3 separate regions of the Homo sapiens genome follow, and regions 1 and 3 are each linked to region 2. Evidence: promoter capture Hi-C in human tissues and cell types (Jung and others, 2019). All regions are on one chromosome and are shown on one strand. Each heading gives the region's core, a stretch centred on a gene start or on the middle of the fragment in contact. The rest is flanking DNA. Distances are from core to core; before and after follow the strand shown.

Region 1 (3,184 bases), core at 395-2,894, 530 kb before region 2:
CTAAAAATACAAAAATTAGCCAGGCGTGGTGGTGGGTGCCTGTAATCCCAGCTACTCAGGAGGCTGAGGCAGGAGAATTGCCTGGACCCGGGAGGCGGAGGTTGCAGTGAGCTGAGATTGTGCCACTGCACTCCAGCCTGGGCAACAGAGGAAGACTCCGTCTCAAAAAAAAAAAAAAAAATTAAATGTGATTCATAGACAAGGAGGAAGGCCTGGCCAGGAACCCCATTCTTCCTCGAGCCCACGTGCTGCCCCACCAAGCCCCGCTCCGTTCCCTCCAGTGCATGGGGCTCCCTGGGATCTGGCAGCTGTCCTGACCCAGGGATTGTCCCATTCCCAGGGAGAGGGACTTGATGGCAAACCCAGGGCTCCCCAGGTGTCATGGGGCAGATGCTCCCTTCCCAGGGCCCCTCAGGTAGGGGGATTGGGAGTGGGGTGCTCAGGGCTGGAGCAATAACCAGGGTCCTGGGGCGGAGATCCAGGCACAGACACCAGGTGGCCCTGCTGGGGGCTCACGTATGAACATGCAAGTGCAAAAGCCCAGAGCAGGAGACAGCAGGTGCCCAGGCTCAGCCGGGGGTCACTGTGGTAGGGACCTTGCCAGATGGTGGGCAGCTTGAAGCAGCAAGGAATGAGTAAAGTCTGTAAAAGGAGAGAGAGAGAGAGAGAGAGAGAACGAGAGAGAGAGAGAACAACAGCACACGTATGTGTGTGCCGGAGTCAGTAGTGGGTGGGGAGGAATGACCATCAAGCCTTTACCATGTCCTTACCTGGCCTCTGTGATCTACTAGAGACCCCAAGACAGTCCCAGGTGGAAGGTATTATTATTTGCCATTTTACAGATGAAGATCCAGGCTCGGGGAGTCTCTGCTCCAAGCCTTCACGACAGGCAGGTCCTAAGCCTAGGTCTGTCTGTCTTTCTGTGTCTCCAAAACTCCCTCAAGAACATGGCCGTCAGGCCCAGTCTTCCTGTGGGATCCTTTCTTGGGATGAAATCTTCCCTCCCTCAAGTATCCCTCTAATGAAAAGCACCCTTGTCTTACCCCTGGAAACTCTCTTTCTCTATTTCTTCCTCCACCCCCAACCCTTGGCTTCACCCTCCTGTGGCCCTTTGTCCCAGGCCTCAGCCTCCAGCCCTTTCCCAGCCTGGGCCGGGCCACTGCCACCCCTCTATTCCCCACTCCCCTTTCCCCTGCTGGGCCCCTCTCAGGAGGCCCCCGGTGAGGTCATCCCTGTGTCAACAGGAGCTGCACAATGGGGCCGGCCTCTTTCTGCTGAAGAGGGAGAATTGGGGTGGGGGAGAAAAAGGCAGGAGACTCTGCAATTACAGGGTCCACAATGGGGCCGTAGTCGAGGGGGCTGGACTGGGTGGCGGGGGGGGGACCTCTGCTAATTAGAGCCGCTGCATGGGGACTCTGTGGTGGGGGAGGGGCTGTGGGCCAGGCAGGGCCTGGGAAGATCAGCCCAGGTGGGTCCTGACGTTCCTAGTTCAATTGTTCGTTCGTTCATCTGTGCCGTAAATATTGCCTGAGCACCTACTATGTGTCAGGCACTGTGTGAAACACCAAGGACACAGCAGGGACCTCAGGGATGGGGCCCTACCCTGATGGAGCCAACCCCGTAGAGGGTAAGACAGAAAGTAAACAGATAAACACACACAACAGATAAATGTGTGCCAGACTTTCAAGACGAGTCGAGTGCCATGAAGGAAATAAAATATCATGAAATCTCAGAGCAGTAGGGGTGTGTGTGGGGTGGGGAAGCAATATTAGCAAGGTGATCAGGGTGGGCTTCTTGGAGGAGGTGATATCTGAGGTGAGATCTGGAAAGCAAGACATGGCAGCCATGTCACAACCAGGGGAGAAATGTTCTGGGCAGAGGACATAGCAGTTCAGTGCAAAGGCCCTGAGGCAGGAACACCCCTGGCATGTGTGAGACCAGAAACATGGTGGGTGTGGCAGGAGAGCAGTGGGTTGGGAAGAGGGGTGGATGGTGGAGAAGGGGAGCTGTGAACAGCTGTGGTGTCATGGAGCTGGCTCTCATCATGCATGACAGTCATCTGTGCATAGCTATTCCCGACACTGCTTAGGTTGGTAGCTTGTGGTAGCTTGAAATCGATCATAGTGGGAGTATTTACACCATGGAAATTGGCAGATGATACAAATCAGGGTTTCTTTATTTTTTTATTTTTGAGACAGAGTCTTGCTCTGTCACCCAGGCTGGAGTGCAGTGGCACAATCTCAGCTCACTGCAACCTCCGCCTCCTGGGTTCAAGCGATTCTCCTGCCTCAGCCTCTTCAGTAGCTGGGATTACAGGCATGCACCACCACACCTGGCTAATATTTGTATTTTTAGTAGAGACAGGGTTTCACCATGTTGGCCAGGCTGGTCTCGAACTCCTGACCTCAGGTGATGCACCCACCTTGGCCTCCCAAAGTGCTGGGATTACAGGCGTGAGCCACCGGGCCTGGCCAAATCAGGGTTTCGAGCGAGATGGCGGGAGACGGAGAATGCATAGGTGTGTAAGAGCATTTTTTCTCTACTATTCACAAATCCAAGGAGTGAAGGGCTAATGAGACTGACATTAATGAAGCTTCTACTGTGTGCTGACACCTCCTAGACCCCTTCATGCACCTTTTCCCATTTAATTCTTGCAAAGAGGTCCAGAGAGGTTAAACAGCATGACCAAGGTGGCCCAGCTCTTACATCAGGGAGTCAGCTCTTGAGCTTATGTGTGCCTGACCCCCTCACCAGGCTCTTCCCACTTTGCCAGGCCTTTTTGCTCCCACATCCACCCTTCTTCATAAGCCAGCTGCATGCTATAGCACTCATCAAAGCCTTTCTCATGTAAGAGCTGGTGTGGGGGACCTGGATGGGGCAATGATAACAGGCACAGCTAATTTCCATTGAGTGCTTACCACCTGCTTGCTGCTGCCTGGAACTCCATCTTGGGTACTTTTTTCCACAGTCCTGTGGCACAGGGCCTGATGTTATCAGCCTCATTTTACAGATGAAGAAACTGAGGCTCAGAGAGGATGCCAGGCCTCCCCTAGGTGCCATGGTTCTCACCACACAGATGAGGGAATGAGGCTGGATCCCAGCTCCTCCTGAATCGCAGGCAGCCTTGGCCAGCAGGCTGCTGGGCTTTCTCTGCCTCCCTTCTTCTTCCTGCTTGTTCCAAGAT
Region 2 (2,992 bases), core at 482-2,981:
CCTCCAGGCAAGGCAAAAGCAAGGACTGCAGCAGAATGGGGAAGCTCAGTTGAACATGAACCACCCAACCAATCCAGGTGCTTCTCAGGTGACATTTGGAATCCTGACAGCAATGTCACCTGTTTTACAACACCACCAGTCATTCTGCAGTTGAGGACACTGAGCCACAAAGAGGGCAGAGGCCTGACCCCAAAGCTCACATACTCTGCATTCCTCCAGGTCTCACGGAGAAGGGGGAGGGCTTCCTGGTCCACTCCAGCTGGGGGCGCTATGGCCCGGCAGACCAGGGTCCTCCAGTGAGGAGCTCTGGACCAAGGTCTAACTTGGCTCCATGTACTGCTGTGGGCTTGCTCCACCCAGTGCCAGGGGTAGGTCAAGGTCAAGGGGCCTCTTAGGCATCTCCTAAGGGCATGCTACTATCCAAATGTTTGTGTCCCCACTAAAGGTCATCTGTTGAAATCCTACACCTTAAGGTGATGATCTTTGGAGGCGGGGGCCTTTGGAAGGTGATTTGATGAGAGGGTGGCACCCTTATGAATGGGATTGGTGCCCTTATCAAAGAGGCCCAGAGGTGAGGATGTGGCAAGATGGCACCTTCTACGAGCCATACCTCTCACCAGGGACCAAATCTGCTGGTATCTTGAACTTGGGCTTTCCAGCCTCCAGAACTGTGAGACAGAGAAATAAGCCAGGCGAAGTGGCTCACCCCTGTAATCCCAGCATTTTGGGAGGCTGAGGTGGGTGATGACTTGAGGTCAGGAGTTCTAGACTAGCCTGGCCAACATGGTGAAACCCCATCTCTACTAAAAATACAAAAAATTAGTCAGGCATGGTGGCGCATGCTTGTAATCCCAGCTACTCGTGAGGCTGAGGCAGGAGAATCCCTTGAACCCGGGAGGAAGAGGCTGCAGTGGGCCAAGATCGTGCCATTGCACTCCAGCCTGGGGGGAAAAAGATAGAAATAAATCTCTTGTTTGTAAGCCCCTCCGCTTTAAGGTGTTTTGTTTTCGCACCTGAACGGACTAAGGGACTAAGGGACCAGGAATCATCCAGGCCTCAGCTTCCCAAAGCACTCCCCACTCCCCAGTTCCTACAGGGCCCCGACCCCAGCCCCAGCACCCGTCATTCACATTTTTTACTTACAAAGGAAACTTTGAAATGGACACTTCCTGTTACTTTCATTCAATGAAAAAAATCCCCAGCACTTGAAGGCAATCATACAGAAAGCCTGCAACAACGCAGAGAGTAGACTCTTCAGGTGGTGGTGCCTGCTTTAGGCTGGCTCTCCCCGGGTCAAAAGGGACGTGATAAAGTGTTAAAGTGATGTTAAGGATCAAGTGGGCACCAACTGCGACTCCCCTCCCACCCCCCGACTTAACAGATGTCAAGGAAAACAGAAGGAAGCCGTTTCTCTCCAGGACATGCAGTGTCTGCTGGAGTTTTGGAAAAATGCTTTCTCTCGAGTCGCTGCGGGGAGCTCCCAGGCTGGACCCCCCCGCACAGGTCCTCCGCCATCGCCCTCCCAGCCCCCGCCCCCAATCCCCCTCCCAGACCCGGTCCCCGCCCCCATCCCCCGCCAGACGTCGTCCCCACCCCCATCCCCCTCCAAGCCCCGCCCGGGAGGGCGTCCTGCCCGCTCATTGGGCCTCCCGCCGGCTCATTTGCATGGTCCGAGGGGGGCGGGGCTGACGTCGCGCTGGGAATGCCCTGGCCGAGACACTGAGGCAGGGTAGAGAGCGCTTGCGGGCGCCGGGCGGAGCTGCTGCGGATCAGGACCCGAGCCGATTCCCGATCCCGACCCAGATCCTAACCCGCGCCCCCGCCCCGCCGCCGCCGCCATGTACGACGCAGAGCGCGGCTGGAGCTTGTCCTTCGCGGGCTGCGGCTTCCTGGGCTTCTACCACGTCGGGGCGACCCGCTGCCTGAGCGAGCACGCCCCGCACCTCCTCCGCGACGCGCGCATGTTGTTCGGCGCTTCGGCCGGGGCGTTGCACTGCGTCGGCGTCCTCTCCGGTATCCCGCTGGGTGCGTCTGGGGACGCTGCCCGGGCTCCACGTGCGGAGTGGGTGCCCCCTAGGCCGGGGAGCGGGGGATCCCCAGGGGTCGCGGGGCCCTGGAGGAGCGGGCATCGGACGCGGACACGGCGGGGTGCATCCCGAGGGCCCCCTCCGAGGCAGATGCTTCCTGCGGGGGCGCTGTTCCTGGGCCCGGGAAGGGGGCGTTGGAACCCCGAGCGGTCCGGGCCGAAGCCTGGGACTCTCGTGCGTCCCCACCCCTACCCCCATCAGGCGCCCGTGCATGAAGGGAGACCCTCACCTCCGGACTGAGAGTCGGAGCGTCTCGGAGCGACGGGGAGTAGGGAGCGGGACCCGGGGCGGAGGGTAGTGCTGGCCCCTGCGGACTCCGGGTCCCCTGTGTCCTCTCGGGAGGGGCTGGACGGGCTGAGCTGCCGAGGGGCCGATTTGCCCTGGGCCGGACAAAGAGTGGGGCTTTGGCCGGTCCCCCACGGTGGGCTCCTTCCCTCTGGGGATTGAGGGACTCAAGACACCCCGCGCCTGCGCTTTTCTTTTCTTTTTTTCTTTTTTTTTTTTTGAGACGGAGTTTCGCTCAGTCGCCCAGGCTGGAGTGCAGTGGCGTGATCTCAACTCACTGCAAGCTCCACCTCCCAGGTTCACGCCATTCTCCTGCCTCAGCCTCCCGAGTAGCTGGGACTACAGGCGCCAGCCACCAAGCCCGGCTAATTTTTTGTATTTTTTAGTAGAGACGGGGTTTCACCGTGTTAGCCAGGATGGTCTCGATCTCCTGACCTCGTGATCTGCCCACCTCGGCCTCCCAGAATGCTGGGGTTACAGGCGTGAGCCACTGCTCCCTGCTGCCTACGCTCTCTGGGTCGCAGCCCAGCCTTCTGGGGGCTGGGTAGCCTCCCAGAAGGGCAACCCTGGGCATCCTCCAGGGCAGGCTAACTGGAGTCTAGTGGGGAGGGGTACCTTGA
Region 3 (2,893 bases), core at 293-2,792, 660 kb before region 2:
CTGGTGAGACGGATAGAAGGATGGAGAAAACCTCCTCTAGCTCCGGCCCTGGAGTGGGTCCTGGGCTCTGGACGGATGACAGCTTGGTTCAGAGCCCTGCAGTCCTCTTGAGCCACAGAGGCTGCTTGGCTAAGCCAGGCCTCAGCCCCCAACCCAGCTTGAGATCTGGAATTTCCTGGAATGCAAGTGACTTCAAGGACTAGAGCGAATGCCTCAGAGCTAACTTCTCACCAACCTTGTCTCATTAACCTCACAGAAGCAGCCAAAGCTGGGCTCGCTGGGCAGCTGCCTGTGCAGGCCCTTCACGGGAGGCCTCAGGCCCCAGAAATCACATCGGGCTCTCCATACCTTGGTGATATTCAGCCACCCACGGAGAGGGTGGGACTGCTGTTTCTTAAGCCAGCACATATTCCAGGCAAGGGTTGAGCCCTTCCCTGGCGGGGGCAGCTGGGGTGAGGGTTGTGGGGGGTGTCCTAGCTGCTCACAGGGCCCTGCCTAGTCCCTGACCTCTCGCACCAGGCTGGCGCTCAGAAGATGCTCTCTGAGCAAACTCCTCCTTGTAGTGCTTGTGTCAGATGTACTATGGGGTCAGGGAGCAAGCCGCCCACAGTCAGGCCACCTGCAGCCTCTCCCTGGCACTGGGCTCAAGGCCCAGTTGGAGCAGGCCCTCGGCCTGTCTTCTGCCTAAGAGAATGCACTGTCCTTCTGGCCAGGGCTATCCACAACCCTGCTGACGCCATGCATTTTTGACCTTGGCCTTTCTCGTGAGGAAACTCAGATCACACAACACGGGGGACTGGGAAAGCTGGAGTCAGCATTTCTGTTCTGAGGTGGCCGGGGGCAGAAGACTTCTCTGCAGCTAAAGGAATCCATCTGGTGTGGAGACGGGGCCTGGATGGAGCCCTGGGGCTGGAGGCTGGCACTTCCAATCGAGACTGCCCGTTTGGTCCTGCCCTGGGTGACAGTATACAGGCTTATCTTGGCCACCCCACAGGAAAGAGCCAGGAACACAGAGAAAGGTGGTCCGCCTCTTGGACCATACCTGGGACAGAAGGAAGCACCTTCACTTTGAAGAATGGATGAATCACATCTGGTACACGTGGGTCCCCAGGGCCTTGGTGACTATTCTAGGAGACCATGAGTTGGGAAAGGTATGGCAAGGCACCCACAGGAGAGCTGATGACAACTGAGAGGATCAGTGACTGTGGATGATGGACCAACAAGGGCCAGCTGTCCTCTCCACAGAAAGATGGGTGGAAGAACGGTCATTTTCTTTATGACAGCGGGGCAGCCTCAGTCTCTCATTTCCACAGCTAGGGTGAGGACCACCTTCTCTATTGGGAGTTGGAACTGGACACTTCTCCCTAGCATTTTTCTGCATTAGAATGTGGGCTTGATATGAGGCACTTGTCTCTTGCCAGAGATGGAAAGTGCTTCCAGCAGTCTTCTTTGGCTCTTTGTAAAAAGGGCAAATATGACATCGCTTTGGGTATCCCTGGTGCCCTCATCTCCCACGAGGAGAGGCCCACCCCACCATCTCCCCCACGTAGCTGTGGGGAGGATGCACTGGCTCCCAAGCTTCTGAGTTCAGCCATCGTTCTACTTGGTTTCCTGGCTCCTACTCCTACTGGGGAATGGGGTGACCCCATTAAGAGGCTGGACTACACGTGGGCCCCGTAGGCAGACCACCAAGCAGATCCTGAAATGGTGTCTTTGGCCAGAGGCCTCATTCAGCCCAGATCTCCCAGAATATCACCATCTGCAGTTAGCCTTGCAGGGGTCAAATTGTGAGTTCTGATCTTTACATTTTATTTTAGAGATGGGGTCTTGCTGTATTGTCCAAGCTGGACTCAAAGTCGGGCTAGAGTGATCCTCTGGCTTCTGCCTCCCAAGAAGCTGGGACTATAGGTGTGCAGAGTTCTGATCTTTGGTCCCGGAAAAAAGGTCAGCACAGCCCGGAATGGGACCACTTCAGAACCATACTCTTTTCCTTCTTTGTACTACTCATTACCAGGGGCTTCCCAGGCCCATCGAGAAACCTGGTCCTGTAGACCTCTGTGCCACGGCCCCACCATTCCTGCTGGACAGCTTAGGCTCAGGGGCTGCCATAAGATCCAGCCCAGCTCCTGGGGCTACACTGGTGGTGTCGTGCTTGGTGCGGAAAACCCCAAGGCTAGGGTTTACAACCCTTGTCCCTTATGCCCTATCAGGCCCCTTCCACAGGCCCTGCCCTTCTCTCCACCCCATGGGGCTGGGGACCCTCCCTGGCCAAAGTCCAGCAGACTGGACAGACCCTCCAGAAAGTAATGGCAGGAGACGCACGGGACGTTTGACCCATTTGTCTCCCTCTACCTACGTGTGCAGTCCTTCTGGTTTTGGGCAAGGTCAAAGCCGGGCCTGCAGTCGCAGGCCACCCCACCTTTGGGCGTCTCCCGGCAGATGTGGGCACAGCCATGGTCTTTGTTCATGCAGTTCATACCCTCTGGGAAGAGAGACAGACAAGAGACGGGTTGAAGACCAGGCAGAGAGGGAGAGAGAAAATTTCAGGCTGAAAGGGGATAGCCAATGATATGTAACAATCAAATGGGCTGTCATTGCATGTATCATGCACACACACGCACTTGCGCACACACACATATGCGTGTGTGCAGCAGCCATCTACATGGATATCCCTTAGGGAGAAAGCAAGGGCACGGTGCCTGGGTCTAGATTCAGGCTTTGCTCTGTGAGTTGCACTGTAAATGGCACCTCGTGACCCACGGAGACCAAGCTCTTGCTCTAGGTCAGATTGTGGGGCATGGTCTGTAGAACTACTTTTGTGTCAGGGTGATTTGCTCCCCTCTCCCGAGCCACCCATGGTTCTAGGGTACCCCCCACCCGCCCAGCAGACTGG

Evidence for each region. Contacts are between HindIII fragments. The study calls those that stand out against the background at their distance.
Region 1: a contact is called between a fragment that was not itself captured here and the fragment with the promoter of PNPLA3 in region 2, in 2 of the 25 tissues and cell types used here (dorsolateral prefrontal cortex and mesenchymal stem cells).
Region 3: a fragment that was not itself captured here is called in contact with the fragment with the promoter of PNPLA3 in region 2 in 2 of the 25 tissues and cell types used here (IMR-90 fibroblasts and spleen).

What each region holds. Positions count from the first base shown.
Region 1 is chr22:43,392,129-43,395,312 of GRCh38, forward strand. No RefSeq gene overlaps it. Among named protein-coding and RNA genes, the nearest start is that of LINC01639, 6.6 kb to the right of the region's middle. The HindIII fragment of the contact is 9,041 bases long and covers 1-3,184 here.
Region 2 is chr22:43,922,074-43,925,065 of GRCh38, forward strand. It overlaps PNPLA3 (patatin like domain 3, 1-acylglycerol-3-phosphate O-acyltransferase), which reads left to right and starts at 1,732. Exons shown (of 9, transcript NM_025225.3): 1 at 1,732-2,025. The coding sequence starts at 1,839. RefSeq lists enhancers at 1-130, 1,547-2,291, 2,292-2,992. The HindIII fragment of the contact is 10,497 bases long and covers 1-2,992 here.
Region 3 is chr22:43,260,364-43,263,256 of GRCh38, forward strand. SCUBE1 (signal peptide, CUB domain and EGF like domain containing 1) reads right to left here. Exons shown (of 22, transcript NM_173050.5): 5 at 2,357-2,482. LOC124905129 (a long non-coding RNA gene) reads left to right here. Exons shown (of 2, transcript XR_007068120.1): 2 at 1-2,893. Among named protein-coding and RNA genes, the nearest start is that of SCUBE1-AS1, 14 kb to the right of the region's middle. The HindIII fragment of the contact is 8,212 bases long and covers 1-2,893 here.